Linked DNA regions of Homo sapiens: regions 1, 2, 3, 4, 6 and 7 are each linked to region 5. The links are contacts of gene promoters, found by promoter capture Hi-C in blood cells and fetal thymus (Javierre and others, 2016). All regions are on one chromosome and are shown on one strand. Each heading gives the region's core, a stretch centred on a gene start or on the middle of the fragment in contact. The rest is flanking DNA. Distances are from core to core; before and after follow the strand shown.

Region 1 (3,150 bases), core at 604-3,103, 1.8 Mb before region 5:
CCTGGTAGGAGTAGTGTCCTTATAAGAAATACCAGAGTTCTCTCTCTCTCTCCACTTGCACGCACTAAGGAAAGGCCATGTGAGGACATATTGAGGTGGTTATCTGCAATCCAGGAGGACAGCCCTCACTAGAAACCAAATGAGCTGGAGCCAAGTTGTCTTGGACTTCCAGCCTCTGGAACTATAAGAAAATAAATTTCTGTTGCTTAAGACACCAAGTCTATGGTAGTTCGTTATGGCAGCCCAAGCAGCAATATAGTGTTGAAAGAAAGAAACACCAATCCAGAATTCTATATACAGTGAAATTATCCATCAAAAGTGAAGAAGAAAGACTTCATCAGATAAACAAAAACGGAGATAATTTACCAAAAGTCCTGTCCTGCAGGCAATGTTAAAGTAAGTTTTTTGGGTAGAAGAAAAATGATATAGGTAAGAAACTTGAACTATGTAAAAACAAGGAATAGCATTGGAGAAGAAATCAATGAAGGCAAAATAAAATATTGTATTTTTATTATTTTAAATTAATCTAAAAGACAAGTATGTATTGAAAGTAATAATAACAATAATATACCGGGTGATTACAGGATATGGATAAGTGAATTAATGGCAGCAATGGCACAAGAGGGAGGGATTGGAAATATCCTATTTATATGTGCCTGCATTACATGTGAAACAGTACAGTGTTATTTGATGGTGAGCTTCTATTAAGTTAAAATGTATATTGTAAATTTGGGGCAACCATCAAAAAATTCTTAAATGTAGTTGATATACTAAGAAAGGAGATAAAATAAGATTATGTAAAATGCTCATTTGAAACAGAGTAGGCAGAAAAATGAGAGCACTAGGAAGGGAATAAAAAACAAATTCAATAAATAGAAAACAGACACATAGTAGATGATAACCCAACCACATAAACAATGAATTTAAATTGGAATGTTCTGCAAACACTAATTAAAAAGAGATTGTTACAGTGGACATAAAAACAAGTTCCAACTATATGTTGTGTACAAGACACCCGCATTATGTATAAAGACTCAGGCTGAAAGAAAATAAATGGAAAAAGATATGCCAACCTAATATCGATCAAAAGAAAGTTGGAGCAGCTAAATTAATTTCAGACAAGGCAGCTTTGAAAACAGGAATGGTTATCAGGGGCAAAGATGAGCATTATTATAATTGTAAAGGGGGCAATTCTTCAAAAACATCATGACAATTTAAGATGTATATGCACCTACAAAGAGAATACCAAAATACATGGGGCAAAAACTGAATAACTGTAAAGAGAAACAAATAAATCCACTATCATAGTTGGAGATTTCAACATTTCTCCATTGGTAAGTGATACACTAAGCAGACAGAAAGTCATAAGATTCTAAATGATCTGAACAGCACCATCAATCAACTTGGTCTAATTGATATTTTATAGCATAATCCATCCAACAACAGCAGATGCTTCTCAAGTTCACATGGAGCATTCACCAAGATAAACCACATCCTCAAGCATAAAACATACCTGAATAAATTTAAAAGAATAGAATTTATACAAAATGTGTCCTGAGACCACAAGAGAATCAGACTCGAAATCAATAACAGAACGTTATATCTGAAAATTAAACAATACACTTTTAAATAAACCATGGGTCAAAGAAGAGGTCTCACTGAAAATTTTAAAATATTTTTAATTAAATGAAAAGGAAAATACAACTTATGAAAACACATGGGACACAGAGGAAGTAGTTCTTAGAGGGGCATTTATGGCACTAAATGTACATATTCAAAAACAAGAATCATCAAAATTCTGTATACTAAAGTTCTGCTATGGAAAACTGAGCAAAAAAGAGCAACTTAAATTTAAAGCAAGCAGAATAAAAGAAATAATAAAAATTAAAATAAAAATCAATAAAAGTAAAAACACAAAAGAAAAAATCAATGGAATTTAAAAACTGGCTCTTTGAAAAGATCAATAAAATTGACAAACTTCTAGCCAGGCTAACCATTAAAAAAGAAAAACAAGAAGACACAAGTTGCAACATTAGACATGAACATAAGTTCATCACTATTGATCCATTGGATATCTACAGGATAATAAAAGAATACTATAAACAGACAGCTCTATGACCACTGTGATAATTTAGATTAAACAGCAATTTCTTGAAGGACACAAACTTTCAAAATGCACAGAAATAGATAACCAGCATAGCCCTATGTCTATTTAATAATTCAAATCAATAATTAATACCTTTCTAACGAAGAAAGCTAGACTTAGATGTGTTAACTGGTGAATTCTAACAAACATTTAAGGTAGAAATTATACCAATTCTCCACAATCTCTTCTAGGAAACAGAAGCAGAGGGAACACTTCTGAAATATCCTAGGAATCTAGTATCACTCCAATATCAAAAGCATTTCAAGAGAGATAAAATATACATGAATATATTTCATGAAGAAAAATGCAAAAATCTTCAAGAAAATATTACCAAATGTAATACAACAATGTATAAAAAATTATACATCAACATTAAGTTGGATTTATTCCAAGTATGCAAAGCTGATTCAACATTAAAAAGTCAGTCAATGTAACCCACTGTATCAATAGGCTAAAGAAGAAAGGTTATATCATCATATCAACTGATGCTAAAAAGCCATTCAGCAAAATGGAACATAGTCATTTAAAAAGCTATCAGAAAACTAAGAATAGAGAGAAACTTCCTCCACTTAATCAAAAACATATACAAAATAGCTACAGATAACATCATACTTAATGGTGAGAGACTGGACACTTTCCTCTAAGACTGGAAACAAGGCAAGGATCTCCCCTCAACACTCCTATTTAATGTCATACTGGAAGTCCTAGCTAGTTCAATGAGACACGCAAAAGAAATAAAATGTATACAAATTAGGAAGGAAGAAATAGAATGGTCTTTATTTGCAGATGATACAATCATCTATGTAGAAAAACTGAAAGAATAAACAAAAAGCTAACAGAACTAATAAGTGAGCATAGCAAGTTTGCAGGATGAAAGGTTAAGATAGAGTTAATTGTTGTCTTATGTATTAGTAGCTAACAATTGGAATTTGAAATTTAAAAAGATACTATTTACAGTGGTACACCCACAAAAATAAATACTTGGTATAAATTTAACAACACGT
Region 2 (3,373 bases), core at 348-2,847, 1.9 Mb before region 5:
GTTTATCTCTCTATGATTTATTTTGGACAATTTCTATTTGCTATGACTTCAAGTTAACTAACCTTTCGTTCTGCAATATCTAAGCTATAGTTGTTTTCCTATCCAGTGTATTTTGCATCTCAGACACTGTAGTTTTCATCCCTGGAAGTTTGATTTGTATCTTTTCATGTCTTTCATGTCCCCACTTAACATATTCAATCTTTCCTCTAGCTTCTGGAGTATATGGAGTAGTTAAATAACAGTTTTAAGGTCCTTGTCTAGTACTTTTATCACTTGTAGCATTTCTAGATGAGTTTCTATTGATTTTTCTCCTATGGGTTACATTTTTCTGCTTTTTTGCAAGCTTGGTAATTTTTTGTTGGATGCCAGATATTATGAATTTTAGCTTATTGGGTATTAGATTATTTCTTTTTTATTTTTTTGAGACAGGGTTTTGCTCTGTCACCCAGGCTAAAGTGCAGTGGTGTGATCACATTTCACTGCAGCCTTGACCTCTTGGGCACAAGTGATCCTCCTGCGTCAGTCTCTCAAGTAGCTGGGCCCACAGGTGTATGCCACCACGCCTGGCTAATTTTTGTATTTTTTCTAGAGACAGGGTTTCACCACGTTGCTCAGGCTGATCTCAAACTCCTGAGCTCAAGCAATCTGCCTGCCTTGGCCTCCCAAAATACTGGTATTACAGGTGTGAGCCACCATGCCCAGCCAGGTGCTGGATCGATCCATCCTTCCTTCCTTCCTTCCTTCCTTCCTTCCTTCCTTCCTTCCCTCCCTCCCTCCCTCCTTCCTTCCTTCCTTCCTTGGAGTCTCGCTCTGTCACCAGACTGGAGTGCAGTGGCGCGATCTCAGTTCACTGCAATCTCTGCCTCCCGGGTTCAAGCGATTTTCCTGCCTCAGCCTCCTGAGTAGCTGGGATTACAGGCACACACCACCACGCCAAGCTAATTTTTGTATTTTTAGTAGAGACGGGGTTTCACCATGTTGGGCAGGGTGGTCTCCATCTCCTGACCTCGTGATCCGCCAACCTCGGACTCCCAAAGTGCTGGGATTACAGGGGCGAGCCACTGCGCCCAGCCTGGATTATTTCCTTCTAAAACTATTCTCCAGCTTTGTTTTGAAACAAGGTTAAGTTGCTTTGAAACACTGTGGCCCTTTCAGGTCTTGCTTTTAAGCTTTGTTAGTGAGGACTAGAGCAGTGTTTGGTCTAGGGTTAATTTTCTTCACTACTGAGGTGCTCTAACTGAGTCTTTAAGTTCTCCATATGTTTTCACCTACTCCCCAAAAAGCATGTAGTATGACTGGCTTAGGTATCTGTGCATGGGCTCCCCAAGATCATCCCCAAGGTTCATGATTTGCTAGGAGAACTCACAGGACTCTCTATATGCTGTACTCACTGTGAAGATTTATTACAGCAACAAGATAGAAATCAAAATCAACAAAGGAAAAGGGCACTTGGGGTGAAATCTGAAACAAACTGGGTGCAGGTGCTCAAAGACATCTCCAAGTGGAGTCACACAGGATGTGCTTAATTCTCCCAGCAACAAGTCAGGACAACATGTGTGAAATATTGTCTACCAGGGAAGCTCATTACAAACTAAGTGCCCAGGGGTATTCTTGGGGTCTGGTCTTGTGGGCAGCTTCTGTCTGCCGTATACCTAGATTTCAGACTCCCCAAGAGAAAGCAGGTGTTTAAAAATAAAGCACATTATTTGTATGAGTAGTTTAGGCACAATGAACCAGTCTTATCGGGGAACAGTTGTAACTCTCACGAAGTCCAGGAGCAGCCTTGAAAGCAGGTATTTGCAAGTTATCACAGCAGTTCCAGCCCTGTTATAATAGCTCTTCTGCACAGTGCCGATCCCTTAAGTTTCCTTAGCACCTTATATTTCTCCTATAAACCCACTGTTCAACTGCCTGTCTCCCACAGATGGTAAACTCTTTTCTCTGTGAGAAAAGAAGGCAAACTCTGAGCCCGTGAGAAAAGAAGAAACTATACTTCACTCAATATTGCGCCTCCTGTACCTAGCCTAAAGCTTGGCATAAAGTGGATGGTCAAAAATACTTGTTAAATGAAGATAAAGGATTAATATTGTGAGACCATATAAAACTCTTAAGATTATAAAGATACATGGGCAAAGGACATAAAGAAATCAATATTCACTAATAAGCAAATCATCTGATTTTAAAAATTAGGAGTTCTTTCTAATGTATTAAAGTGACAAGGGTCAAATAAATATTAATATACGAAGTTAAGGATATGGATAAATGGTAACTGTTATCCATTGCCGAAAATAATATGTAAGTTATAAATGACTGATTTAGTAATGTATATCAAGAATTTAAAATGTTCATTACCATGTCTCGGGAAATTCCACTTATAATAATTTATCATATAAAACATTAAGAGATAAAAAAAGAAAAAAGATATAAAGATGTTAATTGCAGCATTATTTAAAATGGTATGTATGTGCTAACACTACAAATGTCCAATGATAGAAGGTTAAATAAATTAAAAGATATAAATACAATGAGATATTAAGAAGTAAACCATAGATTGCTTTCAATAAATACTTTATGAGGACATGTAAAAACACCACAATGCAATAAGTGAAAAACTCAAGATATCAGTCAATATATTTTGTTCCAAATTATGTGTATATATGTGTATATTTACATATAAGATATGTATTATTAAAACTACAATAAAGTTGGGAAATATATATGTTAAATAATATTAACTACTTGTGAAGAGTTTAATCATGGGGTCACTGTTCTTTTCTTATTTTTCTTTTTAAGTGCTTTTCAAATGGGTGTTTTTGTAATAAGGATACACATATGTATACTTGCATACATATACATTCATACAAATGAACATGTATTTCCTAATTTGTTTCATTATTTCATTATTGAATAATAACTACTGTGGGGAGAGGAATCTCAAATTAAATATCATATGTGAAGCACACAAATAAAAAAAATTATACTTGTCATTAGGAGAGGACCAATTCTCATCAGAGACATTTGGGGGAACTCACTAAGTCTTAGTTGGTACTTATCCAGTACTACTCACCATTATCAATATTTTATTTAAAAATATACTTCTGAACATGTAATTGTTTCATTTCAGAAATTAAACACTTTTTCAATCTCCACACAGCTGAGATTTCTACTTCCTTTTCATGTGATCTTAGGGTTATGTCTATTTCTGAAGGCTAGTGTATGAAAGTATTCATGAGATATTTTATACTGTCTTTGAAATTTTGATTTTACTATCTTTCATAAGTTTTAAAATATTTGCTTTTAAAATGGGAGTGAAAAGTGCAATCATCAAAGGTTAATTAAATTTCTCCCATCTGGAAATATGAATATTCTGAAT
Region 3 (3,057 bases), core at 108-2,607, 1.8 Mb before region 5:
GTGATTCTGGGACTTGTTTAAATACCGATTTCTTAAGTATTTGAGGAAGTCTTTTGAAATCTTGTTTAAAATCAACTTCCTTGCTCTCTATACTTTTCATACCCCTTTTGGCTAAATATAATTAGTTTTATTTGAATCTTCATGTTTTTTTTTAAATACATAAACCAAGAGCATACGGTTCCAGGGGCTCAAACCAGCATTCTCTCATGGTGGTTTCTAGCTTACAGGAACTCATTCATAATAACATATCTAGACTGGGTTTTAATAGTGTGGAATAAATTTAGAATTCATAATAAGAACCATGAGAAGGACAATTATCAAGGTTATTAAAAACAATTATTTCTTACCTCATTTTCACTACAACTTTCAGCCCTCAGCACATCCAGGTCACCATGTAGGCATTAATCAAAATGTTTCCTCTAGCACTGCTGGAAATTTTGACCCATGGATAATGATTGATGGTCCCTTCCCAGGGATTGGATGGCTGTTCTCTAGAGAGGCTGGACATCTGACCCGGGCAGAGAGCATTCACAAGGCATTCACAACTCTCCCACAGCAGGTGTACATCTGTTCCACCAGGATGACATCCTCCTCTCTTTGTCACAGTTACTTACTCTTATAAAAGAGTTCTTGGATGTTGACATTCTTCTCCTTCTTTGAACAAATAGAAATCTAGAGACTTCACAGAATAGATGTTGGCTTTTTAATGATTATTTTAGATAGAAATGTTCTGCTGGTCAACAAATGCTAAGACTGATGTTCTTTAAATACACATGTTCTGGTGTGTAATGATGGAGTTATTAGAGTAAAAGGGGTTCAAGAGATTGCAGATACCTTTATCTTAGCTCTGTCCCACAGAGCAATGGTTCAGTATACTACTGGTTAGTTTGGGAACAAGGCTACCATCGTTTTGTTTTTCTCAGCCAAACAAGAACTTACACAACACTCTAACCTTTTCTATGTTGGAAGTAGGAAGATTTCCATTTGCTCCACAGTGGCGTCTTTACCATAAATATCTTTCCCATTACTTATGTTTTCATTCACAGAGAATAGTTTGATAATGTTCTAAAGGAGAAAAACATAAGGAATGTGTGTATGGTTAAAACACCCAACAGATATCAAAATGCAAGTTTCATTGCAGTCAGGCCCATGTGAGTCAGGCTAGCTCTGGGCAGAGGTAGGTAGAAACAAATCTGAAGAACAGGGAGGAGATAACTATACCAGTGAATCAACCTTTAATTGTAGGCTGACTGTAGATAATGAATCAGTTAACCTGTTCATTTCCACAAATGCAAATCCTATGCTACATAAGTTTGGCTTTTACCAATGGGTCTGCCAAGTACAATTTAGGTTGAACCACTAACACAAAGATAAAATAAAAATTCACATTTAATTTTGTTTTCTAAGGATGTGGAAGGAACTGTATGGTCCATGCTCAAGCACAAGTTATAATTGTCCATTATGTCACTTTCATTAATATGGGCCAATAGAGCTAGAATGTAACACCTATGCAGCATCAGCAACGCAGTAAAAGTATCTCCTGAAGGACAAGATCTGAATCTGGTAGGATCAATGTTTTCCTCACTAACTTTGCCACTTTTGAGGTTTTCAGGACTATTCCTTGCAAGCTAAGGAAATAGGAGGAGTGTCGAGATCAAAGTCGACTCTCCCAAGTTTCTCTCTCTTTTTTTTTGAGACGGAGTCTCACTCTGTTGCCCAGGCTGGAGTGCAGTGGTGTGATCTCGGCTCGCTGCAACCTCCGCCTCCCTAGTTCAAGCGATTCTCCTGCCTCAGCCTCCTGAGCAGCTGGGATTACAGGCATGTGCCACGACGCCTGGCTGATTTTTGTATTTTTAGTAGAGACATGGTTTCATCATGTTGGCCAGGCTGGTCTCGAACTGCTGACCTTATGATCAGCCGGCCTTGGCCTCCCAAGGGGCTGGGATTACAGGCATGAGCTACCACGCCCGGCCCTCTTGTTTAATACTATTGATACGTTATTCAAAAAGAGCAAAATGCTGAGGCTTGAGGTCACTTGAGGTCAGGAGTTTGAGACCAGCCTGGCCAACATGGTGAAACTCTGTCTCTACTAAGAATACAAAAATTGGCTGAGTGTGCTGGTACATGCCTGTAATCCCAGTTACTCAGGAGGCTGAGGCAGGAGAATCGCTTGAACCCAGGAGTTGGAGGTTGCAGTGAGCTGAGATCGCGCCACTGCACTAAAAGTGGCAAGCTGATCAGAGAAATGTTGTAAAATGCCCTGATTATGGCCCACTTCAATGCTACAATGCTTTATATGCATTATCCCCATTTTAGAGACAAAGAAACCAAGGTGTAGGAAGGTAGAATCACTTGCCCAAAGTGACAGTTAGTAAGTGGTGAAGTCAGAATTCAAACCCAGAGAATTTGATGCTGGCACCCAAGTGCTTAGTATGCATCTTTCTCCCTTTCTTTTCTGATCTAGAAAAGATTGCTAAGATAAAATGTTTGAGATAAACCTAGATTAAAATCATTGATAGGAAAGAAAACCAGTCATGAAATAATCAGGCGTTAGAAAGTTGGGTCATAAATTAACTTGCCAGCACTGAGTAGTAACAGAATTAATTGTCTCAGTCTACTTGACTTTAGCTATGTGTTGAAACCAGTCATTTTCCTTAATGATACTTGCAATTTGCTCCCTATCTTCTTGCAATTAGAAGTTACTTTCAGATCAACTGTGTCAGGCACACAGGCTCCTCTTTTACTATAAAATACCAGGACAACAACTTTAGGAGCTTTTGGAGCCACAGTTAAGATTGGGCAAAAAGAACTGACTTCAGCTCATGAGCTGGCTTTTATCTGTGTGAGAAGAATGAAGGACAGGGTTGGGAGACTTACATTGCTTTTCCTTTCACTGTCTTCATTGGAATCTATTAATTCATTAATTCTAGCCTCCTCTCTGGAATTACACTTTTTTTTTTTTTTTGCCTGTTCTCTCACAAGTCCAGACACAATACTTTCACCTTCTGCCCAGAGGACAAAATACTTTTCTGAAATGCCTCAACTGTTATCCATCCA
Region 4 (3,078 bases), core at 27-2,526, 1.8 Mb before region 5:
CTTTGGGCCAAAAGAATTGTTACTTTCTCAGTTTAGTTGAAAGCAAATAATGATACTGTGCTCATTTTTATAGACAACAATAGCACACATGTATGTGGATGAAAATGAGCGATACAGACTAATTATGAGTGAAAGAAATCCTTGCAGAACTAACAATCCAGTGTTGTCCAAAACAAACCAATGGACAAAGTATTTGAAAATGCTAGTACCATCCTAACATCCCAATTGTTTTGAGCAAATTCTTATTGATAGAGATCTCTGGGCCTGCTTATCAACCAGTGAGTAACTCCAATAGTCAATAAACAAATGCTGCCTCCCTCATTAGGGATGGATATAGATGGAAATAGAATTTCAGAAGAGTTGACAGACAAGCCAAATATTGTCAACTTTCAAATTTGTCATGTTGCCCCTAGTTCGAGCCTCACTGTCCAAATCCCAGAGAAAGAGATGGTGGGATGTGAGGAATGGAGATAATCTGTGTCTCTTTGGGATGTTTTGGGGTCTACTTAAGGCCAGCATGACAAACATGTATAGTGACAACCCTAATCAATTGTTCATGGCTGTCTGAAAGGGTTGGTGAGGCTACAGTGAGCAATAAAAAATTGCCATCAGTAATTGGCCATAATTACCTTGAACAAGTGGCAACTTGTGATAGGCAACAGTTTCTATACAGTGGTAAAACATGTCTTATACTGTTCCAGAGGGTATATGATTTAATCAACAGTACAATTGAAGCTGTATTGTATTGGGGCACTTAATATTAGAATTTTGCTAAAATATTTGATTTCTATTTAGACACACAGATCTCTAAAAGATAGTTTTCTGTCTTGATTACATGTTCTTCACTTCATTCTGAATCAGATTGGAAATAATAAGTTGTGCTTTATATGCTTGGTAGCTCATTCATTCATTCACAAATTCAGCCAGTCAGCCACTGTCCTAGTTATCTATTGCTGGGTAACACATGACTTCAAAATTTGGTGGATTGAAACAACAACAATTATGTCATTATCTCTTCCAGTTTCTGTGGGTCAGGAATCTTGGAAGGACTCAGCTAGGTGGCTCAGCTCAGGTTCCCTTTGTGGTTTCAAGTCATATGGTGGCTGGGAGAGTGTGGGGCTGAAGCAGCTGGGGGCTGGATGGGCAGCTTACTGTCTTCATGTAGTTCCTGGGCCTCTGCACATGGGTTAATCTGGACTCCAAAGGTAAGATGTACCACCTTTTATGACCTAGCTTTTGAAGTTACGCAATACACGTTGAGCATCCCTAATTTGAAAATCTGAAATCCAACATGCTCCCAAGTCTGAATTTTTTGACTGCTGACATGAAGCCACAAGTGGAGAATTTCACACTTGACCCCATGTGACAGGCTGCAAGTCACAGTGCAGGAGCATAACAAGCAGTTTATTCTGTGCTTCCAAGGGAACAAAGACCCTTGGAGCCCTCCTCAGCTGTGATGTACATTTGTTGCACATGTTCAGATTCTCCCATGCAAGCAACCAGACTGTCCACATAGGTGGTTGCTAGTGACATATTTACCTTCTGATGGCTCAGTGTATACAATCTTAGTTTCATGCAAAAAAATATTTAAAATATGATATGAAATACCTTCAGGCTATGTATATAAACTGTATATAAACCATAAATGAATTTTATGTTTAGGCTTGTGTCCCATCTCCAAGATATCTCATTATGTATATGAAAATATTCCACACTCCAAAAAAAACACTAAAAATCCAAAACACTTCTGTCCCAAGAATTTCAGAATAGGGATACTTAGCCTGTATCACTTCTACTACACACTACTGATTATAAGCTAGTTATAAGACTACCCACCCAGGTTGGAGAAGAAGGGAAGTAGTCTGCACCTCTTTATGGGGATGTGACTAGGGTTTTAGAAAACATATGGGATAGGAGATGATGTTGCTATCTTGGAAAAATATGATCAGCTGATTAGCCAGAGTCACAAACATTTGTTGGGAGCCTTTTATGTGCTAGGCTGCACATACTCTGGGAATACAGTGAAGAGGAGGGACAATGTCCTTGCTCCTGAGTGGCATATATTCTACTGAGGATGAGTGAGGAGATAAACAAGAGGTAAATACACAGGAAAGACAAGATTGAATTGTGGTAAGTGCTATGAAGAATGTTAAACAAAACAGAATAACTGGGGTTTGGAGAGCTTCTTTAGATAAGGTGGTCAGGACAGGTCTCTCTCTCTCTCTTTTTTTTTTTTGCTTCAGTGTCTATTTTATTTATTTATTTATTTATTTATTTATTTATTTATTTATTTATTATACTTTAAGTTCTGGGGTACATGTGCAGAACATGCAGGTTTGTTATATAGGTATACATGTGCTATGTTGGTTTGCTGCACCCATCAACTCGTCATTTACATTAGGTATTTCTCCTAATGCTATCCCTCTTCAAGGCCCCCACCCCATGATGGCCCTGGTATGTGATGTTACCTTCCCTGTGTCCATGTGTTCTCATTGTTCAACTCCCACTTATGAGAACACGTGGTGTTTGATTTTGTTCATGTGTTACTTTGCTGAGAATGATGGTTTCCAGTTTCATCCATGTCCCTGCAAAGGACATGAACTCATCCGTTTTTATGGCTGCATAGTAGTCCATGGTGTATATGTGCAACATTTTCTTTATCTAGTCTATCATTGATAGGCATTTGGCTTGGTTCCAAGTCTTTGCTCTTGTGAACAGTGCTGCAATAAACATACATGTGCATGCGTCTTTATAGAATGATTTATAATTCTTTGGGTATATACCTAGTAATGGGATTGCTGGGTCAAATGGTATTTCTAGTTCTAGATCCCTGAGGAGTTGCCACACTGTCTTCCACAATGATTGAACTAATTTACACTTCTACCAACAGTGTAAAATTGTTCCTATTTCTCCACATCCTCTCCAGCATCTGTTGTTTCCTGACTTTTTGATGATCGCCATTCTAACTGGTGTGAGATGGTATCTCATTGTGGTTTTGATTTGCATTTCTCTAATGGATAGGTCACTTTTAATTAAAGAACTTAATGAGAAGAAAACAGTCAGGGAAACAAGAGTTCC
Region 5 (3,269 bases), core at 496-2,995:
TCACTATAAAACCCACGCGAGCTATTGAAGAATTCTTCAAGTCATACATTTGTTCTCAGTGACTGAGTGGTAACACTAATTATATTGCAAAATGGCTGTTCCTAAATTATTTTAGCCTTTAAAAAAATCCAAGGCCTTCCTGAACTGGGCTCTGACACAAACTGCCCCCACCTCTTCCCTCCTCAGCGAGTGTTCTAGAGGGGGCCAAACGAAGATGCGTGTGATTAGGAAGCTAGGCCATCAGTGTGCACAAGTTTGGGTGACCGAGTCTGCAGGTGGCAGCTACGAGTTATGGTGGACAAGCTTTATGCCAAGGATATTAGAGACAGAAACAGACCAAAGCTTCGAAGGCGCCCATCCCCACACACGGGGATCGCCTGTCACATCACATCAACCTTGCTTGTCTCAGAGGGAAGACCATTGAAAAGTTAAAAGGGAAAAGAGTTCAGGGATAAAGACGTTAAACCAAAGGGGGGTCCCTGAATCTCGGTGACGGGGGATGGGCACCAGGCTAGGTCTCGGCGAGTCCGTGAACCCGTGCATGTACATACTGCTTAGGAGCTGATTCACAGCTTTACTAAGGCTCCGTGGAGCCCCTAAACGTTAAATGATGCTGATTCGAGAAGAAAACGCACCAGCGGCACTGTGTCTGGCTTGGGCAGCCTCACCAGGTGCAGGAGATCAAGCTTTCCAGTTCCAATCCTCTCCCGAGCTCCTTGCGTAGGGTCAAGGATGCCCTCTCTTCTAGGAGCGGATTAACAGGGCAAAGTGGGAAAAAGAGCGAAAGAAATGTAGAGATGCCACCTTGGTGGGCAAATCTGAGATGCCTCCCGCGGAAAGAGACGCAACTTCCAGACCCGCTCCAGTTCTCCACTTGGGCGGGAAGCTTTGCGCTCCCAGCTGGAAGACGCCTCCCGAGCGCTCGCTGCGCCCTTCAAGCAAGATCCTAGCAACCAGAGCTTCAGGGTGGGGGTGGGGGCGGGGGGACGCTGACCGGCTCCCACCTGCTTGCTCCTAGAAAGATCCTAGCTCAGATTAAAGGGATGAAGCGCTAAGGTCGACTTGTCCAGAAAAGAGCTCACGGTGAGTTCACCACCCCCTATACCAATTCATCGAGTGGCCTCCTCCGCATCAGCAGAGCACCCCCGGGGATTCTGTCAGACATGAACCCCGAAACTGGAAGCGGCCGCTGCCTCTCTCCAGCCACACATCCTTACTTCGGAGTGCCCCTTCCAACTTCGGGTTGCACGCCGACCTCAGCACAGGCACTCTCCCCGGCGCCCCAGAGAGCCGGGATGAGGGGAGCTGCACCGAGCTGAGTTAACTCGGTACCAGCCGAGAGGCAGCGGCTGCCCACGAGACAGCACCTAAATACAGGGTCCAAATCCACCCCCACCCCATCCTCTCGCCCCTCCTTATCCCTTCCAACCCTTCTTACTCGACTAGAGCCGGCATCCAAGTCGGACCGGCGCGTCCGGAACTAGGTACTGATCGCCGCACCGGAGCCCGAGGACGCTCACCGTGCCGCCTCCCCGCGGGAGCCCCGGGAGCGGCCCATCACCTCTGCAGCCTCGCCAGGAGAAGAAAAGTTCCCACGTCTCTACCAGGAGAAGCCCGAAGCTCCTGCGGGAGAAGCCTGAAGCTGCTGCTGGAGAAGCGGCAGCTGAGGCAGGACTCCCGATGTTTGCCCGCAGCCGCGCGCGCAGTCGGTGCGCCCCGTCCAGGGCGGCGCGCAGCTAGCAGTGCGGAGCCGAGCCCAGCTAGCGCGCTGACCAGGAGGGGCCGGGCCCGCCGCGGAACGCGCTGATTGGCCGGGCCGCCCGGCTGCTCCTGTCCCTGCCTGGCCCCGCGGTCCACGTGGGCCGGCCTTCTCCCCGCCCCGCACCCCTGCTCAGGCGGCGCGCCCCCACTGCCGGCCTCCAGGCGCCTCTCCCGAGCGCCTCGCTGTGGCCACCACTCCGCAGGTGCTGAGCAAAAGGTATTCTTCCTGAATACCTGAGAGTCGCGTTGAGCTCCACATAAGGAAGACGGATTTAGGGTTCGGCTCTCACTCGAAACCATTCTCCACGCAGGACCCAAAGCGGTTTGCAAGCAGGATTTCTTAGCCACCCCGTGCAGTAGCACATTCATGAACTAATCTGGCTTCGCGTGTAATGTGCTTGTATGAGAGAGGAGAAAACTCGGCCCACGTATGAATACCTAAATACTTTTCTTTTTTAATGTATAAAATACAGCTGGGGCCGGGCTCGGTTGCTCACGCCTGTAATCCCAGCACTTTGGGAGGCTGAGGCGGGTGGATCATGAGGTCGGGAGATCGAGACCATCCTGACTAACACGGTGAAACCCCGTCTCTACTAAAAATACAAAAATTAGCCAGGCGTGGTGGCGGGTGCTTGTAGTCCCAGCTACTCGGGAGGCTGAGGCAGGAGAATGGCGTGAACCGGGGAGGCGGAGCTTGCAGTGAGCCGAGATCGCACCACTGCACTCCAGCCTGGTCGACAGAGCGAGACTTCGTCTCAAAAAAAAAAAAAAAAAAAAAAAAAATTCAGCTAAGACTTCTTTGACTCCCTCCTCCCACCCCATTCCTAGTCATGCCCTCCACTCTTCCGCAAGTGAAGTAACTGATAATCAGTGTCACTTAATGGTATTCATTTTACTGGGATTAGTTCATCTGATCTCTATTTTATAGATGAGATAACTGAAGCACAGAGAAGTTAAATCGTTTACTGAAGATTACACAGGTAACTAGTAAATCCATGCTCTTTAGTATGCAAAGCATGGCGTCGTAGAGCGGTCCCTTGAGAACACTTTAGAACTGCAGACTTTCAGGCCCCACCCCAGAAGTAGAATCTTCATTTTAACAAGATGCCCAAGTGGCTGGTGCATGCATAAAGTTAGAAAACGTTGCTCTGTACCACTATGCTGCTCACTGTCATTGGCTTGGCTTATCATCTTCTGGTCCTTTTACTCTGCATTGACATACAATTATGTGCCATCCTGCCCCTGCTGCACTCCAAAGTATGTTCACCCTTCTCTGACTCTACCCCTTGAACTAACGTATGGCAGGCCTTCTGCTTCTGTTCCCCGTACCACACATACCATAGCACATTTTACTTGTTAAACAGTTTCAATCTCTTACTCTCTTATTATTAAAATGGGGGTTCTACATTCAAAGGCAATTTGTTATCAAGATGTCACCAGTTTAAGAGAGAATTCAAGCTTTGGAGATAGGCGCTTGATCTTTGAGATTTCCTTTAAAGACTAGCATT
Region 6 (3,591 bases), core at 692-3,191, 1.7 Mb before region 5:
GCTGTCAAATCGCAGTCAGGAGCAGCCAGCCAACCATGGCTGCCACAGCTCCAGCATCTCACTTTTACTCAGATAGATCAACGCCTGCACCAACTCTTCCAGGCCCTTCAGTGTTTTCAGGGCATCCCTGTGCTCACACACTGGATCCTGTCCATCAAGAGTAGTGGCTATCAGGTCCCACACAGGCATGGACAGCCAGCCTGAGATTTCTCCCTCATATTTCCCCCTTTCCCAGTCCCATTGTCTTGGTGCTCATGTAGCTTTCTCTGACCTCCTGGCTGGTGTGCAAATTGTCATGCCAGGCCCCTATTGAAGTCATCTTACAGAGGCCAAAGAAGAGACCCAGAGCCAGTGAAAGAGACTAGGATTTATTGAAGGAACTTACATACAGGTTGGTGCAGTGGCAGTGGGCTGGACAGGAGAACCATTACCATTTGTAAAAAGCATGCAGTTTATACAGATCAGGTGCGTCTGCATTCTCAGGGTATGCTTATGTTATTGCTATCAGGTGCATCTTCCATAAGGGTCACTGTCAGGGTATGCTTAAGTTACATTACTGCTATCAGGTGTGTCTGCCATACATACTCCCATGATACATGGTTGACTGCTGCCTCTGCTTAAACTAAGGTTGGCAAGCTCAGCTATCTTCAGGGGCAAGGAAGGCCAGATCAGTGAGTGAAATGGAGCTCAGTCTAAAACAACAGGGAGTAGTGAGGTCTGATAAGAACCAAAAAGCTAATGCCCCAGCTGTGCAGCTCCAGGCAATTGTTAAAATGCAGGATAAGGGCGGTGTGTAAGTGTGGGGTGTGTGTGTGTTTCTGTGTGTTTGTGTGTGCGAGAGAGAGAGAGCATGCACGAGAGCAAGAGCAGGAGTGCACAAGCAAGCATCTCAATTAAAAATTTTTTAAACATCAACGATTAAGAAAATACTGAATAGGCAAACAGTACCCATGCATATGTAAGTGACAGTCCATAAGCTACCAGCTTGTAGCTCTGGCTTATGCAGATAACAGGGAGCATACCTCACAAACCACATATTGCATGGAACAGCTATTTTTATATATTCATTTCTTTTTAACTGAATGGGTAAATAATACCCAACCATATGGTGTGTCCCATTCTTTCTTATTTAATACACTTTTATTTATCACCTACTATGCTCCAGGTCCCCTCCTCAACCAAGGGATACAAAAAAATCTGTTGGGATAACTTAGGGAATAAGACAAACTTTCTCATGGAAAGTTCATTTTACCTAATGAAGGATAACTCTGCTGTCCTTATACCTAAATCTTCTCTTTCTAGATTAAACAGCTCTGTTGTCTCTAACCCTTCCTAAAGTGGCAGGTTTTCCTTTTCATTTTCAGTTTAATATCCTTCTTAAAATGTGGTAAAACAGGTACAAACTACTAGTCATGGAGCCCCTTTCTGAATGTGTTTCAGTTCATAAGTTTTGTTAAATAATTTGCTGAACATATGCAAATGTTTTGCTGTTCGGTATACCTACCACCCCTTTATGGTTTATCTGGGTTTTGGTGTGAACACATATCTTCATTTCTAAGAATCCTAGGATATAAAGTGCTCCACGGACATCTCTGCACCCAGCAACTACAATTTGTTTTCATATTCTTCGTAACTTAATGGCACACCGTACATGCATAGCCAAGCTTATTTGCTCTTCCTGTGCATGCATTTCCAAAGGTCACGGATTTCATGCTGAAGTGCTACATGATATAAGCATTTCCAGGAGCACTTGAGGAAAATAACATTAATTGCCTGCAACTTTAATTGGTTTTATGACAGTAGCCAGGCCAGTGGCTGGGAAAAGACACCCCAGAACAGCTGTCAAATACACAACCTGGCAGAAAGGCATCAAATGCCACGAGCCCTTTCTGCACAGAACTGACATTTGAGAGGCCCACACAGGCCAAGTGATCAGAAAAATCTGCCTCCATGTAATGATTTTTCAAATCCACTTAATTTAAAATGATTTCCGTGGAGCATGCAAAACATGCCACATTTCAGCTCTGGCTGGCAATAGCTGCACTTGGAGTACCAAATTCTAAAACTACTAGTCATTAGGTGAGTGTTTAGGAATGTACACAATGATTATGCCGCAATTACATTATTTATTCAGCCTTTGCTAGGCGCGTATTTTTGTAATTAGAGATTATTTAGGGAGGACCACATGGAAATCAACAATCTCGATCTGCCAAGAATAACAAGCTTTAGCAATCATATATGTATCCTCAAATGATTGTCCTGTTTCTCTCCATCAGTAATCAGGCGTGAGCTCTGTCCCTTATCCTAGTATTTTATCTCCTGTCTGTATGAGATAAAAAAGCACAAGCCTGTAAGGATTGCAAATATTGATGGTCAGTTATCACTGCTCAGGATGTGTAGAGCTAAAAGAAAACCAGGTTGAGAATCGCGAGATCGGGGTCTATTCCTAAATTCTGCTGCTTAATATTGACTGAGTGATTGAGCCATCAAAATGATCTGCAGGGAGATTTAAATGCATATATAGAAGCAAGTTGAAAAATATGAAGCACTATGCAAAAGTATTGTGATACTATGATTATTGTAGCTCTGTTTCCTAGAAATCCCTACTATAAGATCTTAAATAGTTACAACCTGTCTTTCATCATGTTCTTTTTTCTTTTTTTTTTTTTTAAACAAGAACTACAGGATCAGTTATCTAAAGCCACTTATACTTCTATTTCAATTTCTTCACTCTCTCCTATAGCTTGCTAACTACAGATCAATGGGCTAGATTGAGCATATGGAGATGTTTAAATTGACTTGCTATGTTTTGGTTTTGTTTTTTAGATTGCCTTGTTGTCCACATTTTATATTTGAGATATTTCATACGGATATTTCCATTTGCAGTTTTCATATCAAAATCTAGATGTTGTACTTCTCTTGAAAAACAGGATGACCTGACAACATTGATTTGCATCCTCCACAGCTGCAATTGCTGGACCTGAGAGCAGCTTCCCAGAGGGTAAGTTCTTGTCACATCCCCAGGCTGTCCACCTGGCCTGCCTCACTCATTTATGTTTCTGGCTGAACCCCATAGGCACTTAGATTTCAACTCTCACTCTTCCCAATTCTTTTGTTTCAGAGAGATAAGTCTCTAAAGTACCAAAAATGATGGAAGCTAGAATATTAAAAAGAAGCCAGAAGCCTCAATAACCAACATATTGTACATTAAGAAATAAGAAAAGAGATATCAAACAGTTACTGTGAGAAGCAGCAAAGTGGTTAAAAGTATAAGTAAAATAATAAAGCAGTATCAAATCATAGCCACAGTTCGTACTGGCTTAGGAGAATTACTTAAGCTTTCTGGGCCTCAGTTTCCTCTTCTGGAATATGGGAATAACACTTGTTTTTAGAATTAATTTAAATAAGTTTTTTTTTTTGAGACAGTCTTACTCTGTCACTCAGGCTGGAGTGCAATAGTGCCATCATGGGTCACTGCAGTCTCAACCTCCTGGGCTCATGCGATCCTCCCAACTCAGCCTCCTGAATAGCTGAGACCACAGGCGTGCACCACTATGCTCAGCTAATTTTTTATTTTTTATTTTTTTTGTA
Region 7 (3,523 bases), core at 613-3,112, 1.8 Mb before region 5:
TTCTCTTTCACCTTCTGCCATAATTATAAGTTTCCTAAGGCCTCCTAAGCCATGTGGAATTGTGAGTCAATTAAACCTCTTCACTTTATAAATTACCCAGTCTCAGGTATTTCTTATAGCAGTGTGAAAATGGGCTAATACACTATACTTTCCTTCTCCCCCCTAAAACAATGCACGATGTTACAGATAGCAACTTCTCGGCCAGTCTGGGTCTCTGAATGAGAATGATGGCAATGTGCAGGAGAGACCCCAGCTGACTTTTGATGGCAATAAAATGTGCACAAGAAATCAACTGTTTATTATAAGTCATTTAGATTTGGGGTCATTTACTACCTCAGCACAACCTGGGATATCCTAAATGATGTTAGGCTGCTGCTCTCAAAACAATCTACAATGGTGGAATCGATGCATGGATGCAAACAGGTAAACAATCATGCAAACTGCAGCATAAATGCTATAAGAGATGTGGGAGTGAAGTGCTTTTTGGCAGGAATCAAAGTAATAAATTTGTGATGAACTTGAAAAGGTCAATATGCACCTATCTGCTAACAAAATATCTGGTGAGGCTACAATGTGGAACTCCATTTCAAGCAGAGGAAGACACCATCTGAGGGAGACACAGCAATGCCACAGAACGTGGAAAATGTAAGACTTGGGGAAGGGGGATGGTTTATAATCCCACTGTAACTTGGAAGGAACATTGAGAAATAGAAAATAGAGTGACATTATATTCTAATGACCCAGTGACAATAACAGTCTTACTAGTGTGCCAGCTCAGGTCATATATTGTGTAATATATGGCTTCATTTCCACTTTTGACCAATAGCTACACACAAGAGGTGGTAAAACCCCGTATAATTTGGTCAAAACAATATTGGGCTGGAAATCAGAACCTCTGGCTGCTAATATGGGGTATATCAATCATGAGAGGAAATCTGAACATATTTTTTTCTCTAGACCTCCATTACCTTATTGATAAAATGAATGGAAAAAACCTAGATTATTTCTGATCCATTCTATCTCTAAGATTGTGTTTCCTACACTTGAAATGTAACATTTGAAATCTTCATTGTTTGCGTGAAAAGATTCCACCTGGGAAATAAAACCAGGCTATTGACTTGTTATAAATGGAGAGCTATTTGATTGCATCATAAACTGTAATAGATCCTGTGGAAGTGGGGAAGCTACTCCTGTCTCCTTGGAATTAGTGCACCCTCAAATTCCAATGGCCTGAGGGCTTTCTCTGGTGGCCAGAGGCTCCTTGGCCCCATTGAATAGGTTGGAAATCCAGAGAATAATTCCTCTTGGAAGCAGCCATGAACAATGACTATTGTAAGTTGGTAGACAAATGTCCAAGTTCTCTACTCTACAGGTAGGATAATTCTGAAGTTGGACATCCTCAGGATTCCCCAGCAGGACTGAGTTTCCATTACTCACATGACAACTGGTTTGACAATGTACATTTTACTGGCTACCTCCCCTTTCCTGTGTCACTACTCATTCATCTACTGGGATTTTCTAGATTCACCTCTGAAATAAAACATCTGCACTCGAATTCTTGTCTCAAGACCTGCTTCTAGAGAACCCTAAGACATATACTAATACACAGGTGAAAATACAACTACACTCCACTGTCAATAATTTTTAGGATTGGTTTAAATGTACTTCCTACACTTGGGTGCAAGTAAAATCACATTTTCAATTAATTAAATCTGGCTTTGGGCTGGGCGCAGTGGCTCATGCCTGTAATCCCAGCACTTTGGGAGGCCAAGGCAGGCAGATCACCTGAGGCCAGGAGATCGAGACCAGCCTGGAAATTATGGGGAAACCCTGTCTCTACTAAAAATACAAAAATTAGCTGGGCATGGTGGCACACAACTGTAATCTCAGCTACTTGGGATGCTGAGGTAGGAGAATTGCTTGAACCCGGGAGGTGGAGGTTGCAGTGAGCCGAGATCATGGCACTACACTGCAGCCTGGGTGACAGAGCAAGACTCCATCTCAAAAAAAAAAAATCTGGCTTTGAACCCTAACCTCAATGCTCATTGTTCAGACTCTCATAATGATTCAAAGGTGAACAACTCTACTCCCTCTATGCCAAACTGGGGCATGGAGATTTTTGCAGTTGTTCACAAATATGTAAAATCTAATGTGCAGTCTCTACCATAGATGTGTTGCCTCACTGTGGCCCTATGACCTCCTTGACATGCTGGAAACCCATTATTTCCTTCTTCTATGGAAAGCCCCATTTTGGTTTAAGGCACTCCACCTTGTCCTCCTCTAACTTCCAGTGCTGGTAGCCATCTTCTCTGACTTTGAAGGTCTGAAACATGAAAACGAAATCTTTCATGTCTGAATGTGTGAGTTTGGGTTGCGTGTGTGTGTGTGTGTGTGTGTGTGTGAGAGAGAGAGAGAGAGAGAGAGAGACAGACAGACAGAGAGAGAGAGAGAGAGAATGTGTCAGAGAAAAACAAAACAGAAAGGATAACTTAATTTTCTCCTGAAAACCCAACAATGTTCTCTCTTTCTGAATAGGGAAAATAAAATGCTTTATTCCCCACTACAATTCCCCAAAAGAAATGAAACTAGTGTTGAGATGTGTGCAGCTGTTATTGCTGTTAAAATAACTCATCCTATATCACCTTGTGAAAGTTTGAACTTCATGTGCCTAGGAACTGGCAGGGATAGATAAAAAGGAAAAGGCAAACAGGCATTTTCTCCTTTTAAGATAGAAGACTTTTAAATATTACTTTTGCATAAGAGGGGCTCAAATCTTCATCTTCAAGATGTGGCACTCCCTTAGGTATTTAAGTTGTGCATAGGTTGTCTATTTCTCTATATACTAGTCTTGGAAGAGATTACCACTTATATAGTGGCAGAGGTAAAATCGGTCAGGTACTTTTAGTGGCCAGACCACTCTCTGAGAATAATTTTCTTAGTAGATGTAACTAGGATTTGAGACTAGCCCTAGTAAATGATATGGCCATTTTAATAAGCAAGCTGGATACCAATTCTCTTCAGATGTATGAAAAGAAACCCTCTTGGGGCAAAAAAAGAGTTCTAATATGGAGAGATTTCATTTTCAATGACGTAACCTCTTTTCTCTTTGCACTGTCATACATAGCTTCCATGTAGAGTCAAAATGTTAAATATTTGAAAAAGGGAGAATTTATATACCTGAACAAGGGTAGTCAGTTCTGTTAATGAGAGCAGGCTGCTAATGATGTCAGAGTCACAACTTTGATCTGTATCTGATTTATTAATTTCCAGTTTATCTATACCTTTATTTTCTCCTATCAACCCCCTGCCGACCATCTGCCTAACGCTTTCAAAGGGGTGACTAGTTATTTGTCTGGCTATCAATCCAAATATCACCACAAAAAAATCAAAACAAAACCCTTAAAACAACCTATTCTGCTAAGGATGGAACAGGAAATAAGTGAGTAGCCACAATATTTTTCATTGGAAAGATGAGGTTATAAGTGATTTGCTTACTGGTAAGGCGAATCATGCAATTCCACTG

What was found. The method cuts DNA at HindIII sites, captures the fragments that hold promoters and counts their contacts. A CHiCAGO score of 5 or more calls a contact.
Region 1: a fragment that was not itself captured here is called in contact with the fragment with the promoter of TAFA4 in region 5 in 8 of 17 cell types (M2 macrophages, total CD4 T cells, total CD8 T cells and 5 more); the score reaches 8.9 in M2 macrophages.
Region 2: a fragment that was not itself captured here is called in contact with the fragment with the promoter of TAFA4 in region 5 in 8 of 17 cell types (M2 macrophages, M0 macrophages, total CD4 T cells and 5 more); the score reaches 9.5 in M2 macrophages.
Region 3: a contact is called between a fragment that was not itself captured here and the fragment with the promoter of TAFA4 in region 5, in 8 of 17 cell types (naive CD8 T cells, naive CD4 T cells, total CD4 T cells and 5 more). The highest score is 12.3, in naive CD8 T cells.
Region 4: a fragment that was not itself captured here is called in contact with the fragment with the promoter of TAFA4 in region 5 in 4 of 17 cell types (total CD4 T cells, non-activated CD4 T cells, activated CD4 T cells and 1 more); the score reaches 8.7 in total CD4 T cells.
Region 6: a fragment that was not itself captured here is called in contact with the fragment with the promoter of TAFA4 in region 5 in 1 of 17 cell types (endothelial precursors); the score reaches 5.7 in endothelial precursors.
Region 7: a fragment that was not itself captured here is called in contact with the fragment with the promoter of TAFA4 in region 5 in 9 of 17 cell types (naive CD8 T cells, activated CD4 T cells, M2 macrophages and 6 more); the score reaches 9.7 in naive CD8 T cells.

Annotation. Positions count from the first base shown.
Region 1 is chr3:67,098,769-67,101,918 of GRCh38, forward strand. No RefSeq gene overlaps it. Among named protein-coding and RNA genes, the nearest start is that of KBTBD8, 100 kb to the left of the region's middle. The HindIII fragment of the contact is 4,626 bases long and covers 1-3,150 here.
Region 2 is chr3:67,078,643-67,082,015 of GRCh38, forward strand. No RefSeq gene overlaps it. Among named protein-coding and RNA genes, the nearest start is that of KBTBD8, 82 kb to the left of the region's middle. The HindIII fragment of the contact is 861 bases long and covers 1,168-2,028 here.
Region 3 is chr3:67,131,884-67,134,940 of GRCh38, forward strand. No RefSeq gene overlaps it. Among named protein-coding and RNA genes, the nearest start is that of MIR4272, 92 kb to the right of the region's middle. The HindIII fragment of the contact is 5,179 bases long and covers 1-3,057 here.
Region 4 is chr3:67,170,800-67,173,877 of GRCh38, forward strand. No RefSeq gene overlaps it. Among named protein-coding and RNA genes, the nearest start is that of MIR4272, 53 kb to the right of the region's middle. The HindIII fragment of the contact is 9,105 bases long and covers 1-3,078 here.
Region 5 is chr3:68,930,802-68,934,070 of GRCh38, forward strand. TAFA4 (TAFA chemokine like family member 4) reads right to left here and starts at 1,746. Exons shown (of 6, transcript NM_182522.5): 1 at 1,439-1,746. The HindIII fragment of the contact is 2,333 bases long and covers 885-3,217 here.
Region 6 is chr3:67,231,843-67,235,433 of GRCh38, forward strand. No RefSeq gene overlaps it. Among named protein-coding and RNA genes, the nearest start is that of MIR4272, 8.2 kb to the left of the region's middle. The HindIII fragment of the contact is 559 bases long and covers 1,663-2,221 here.
Region 7 is chr3:67,115,218-67,118,740 of GRCh38, forward strand. No RefSeq gene overlaps it. Among named protein-coding and RNA genes, the nearest start is that of MIR4272, 110 kb to the right of the region's middle. The HindIII fragment of the contact is 6,876 bases long and covers 1-3,523 here.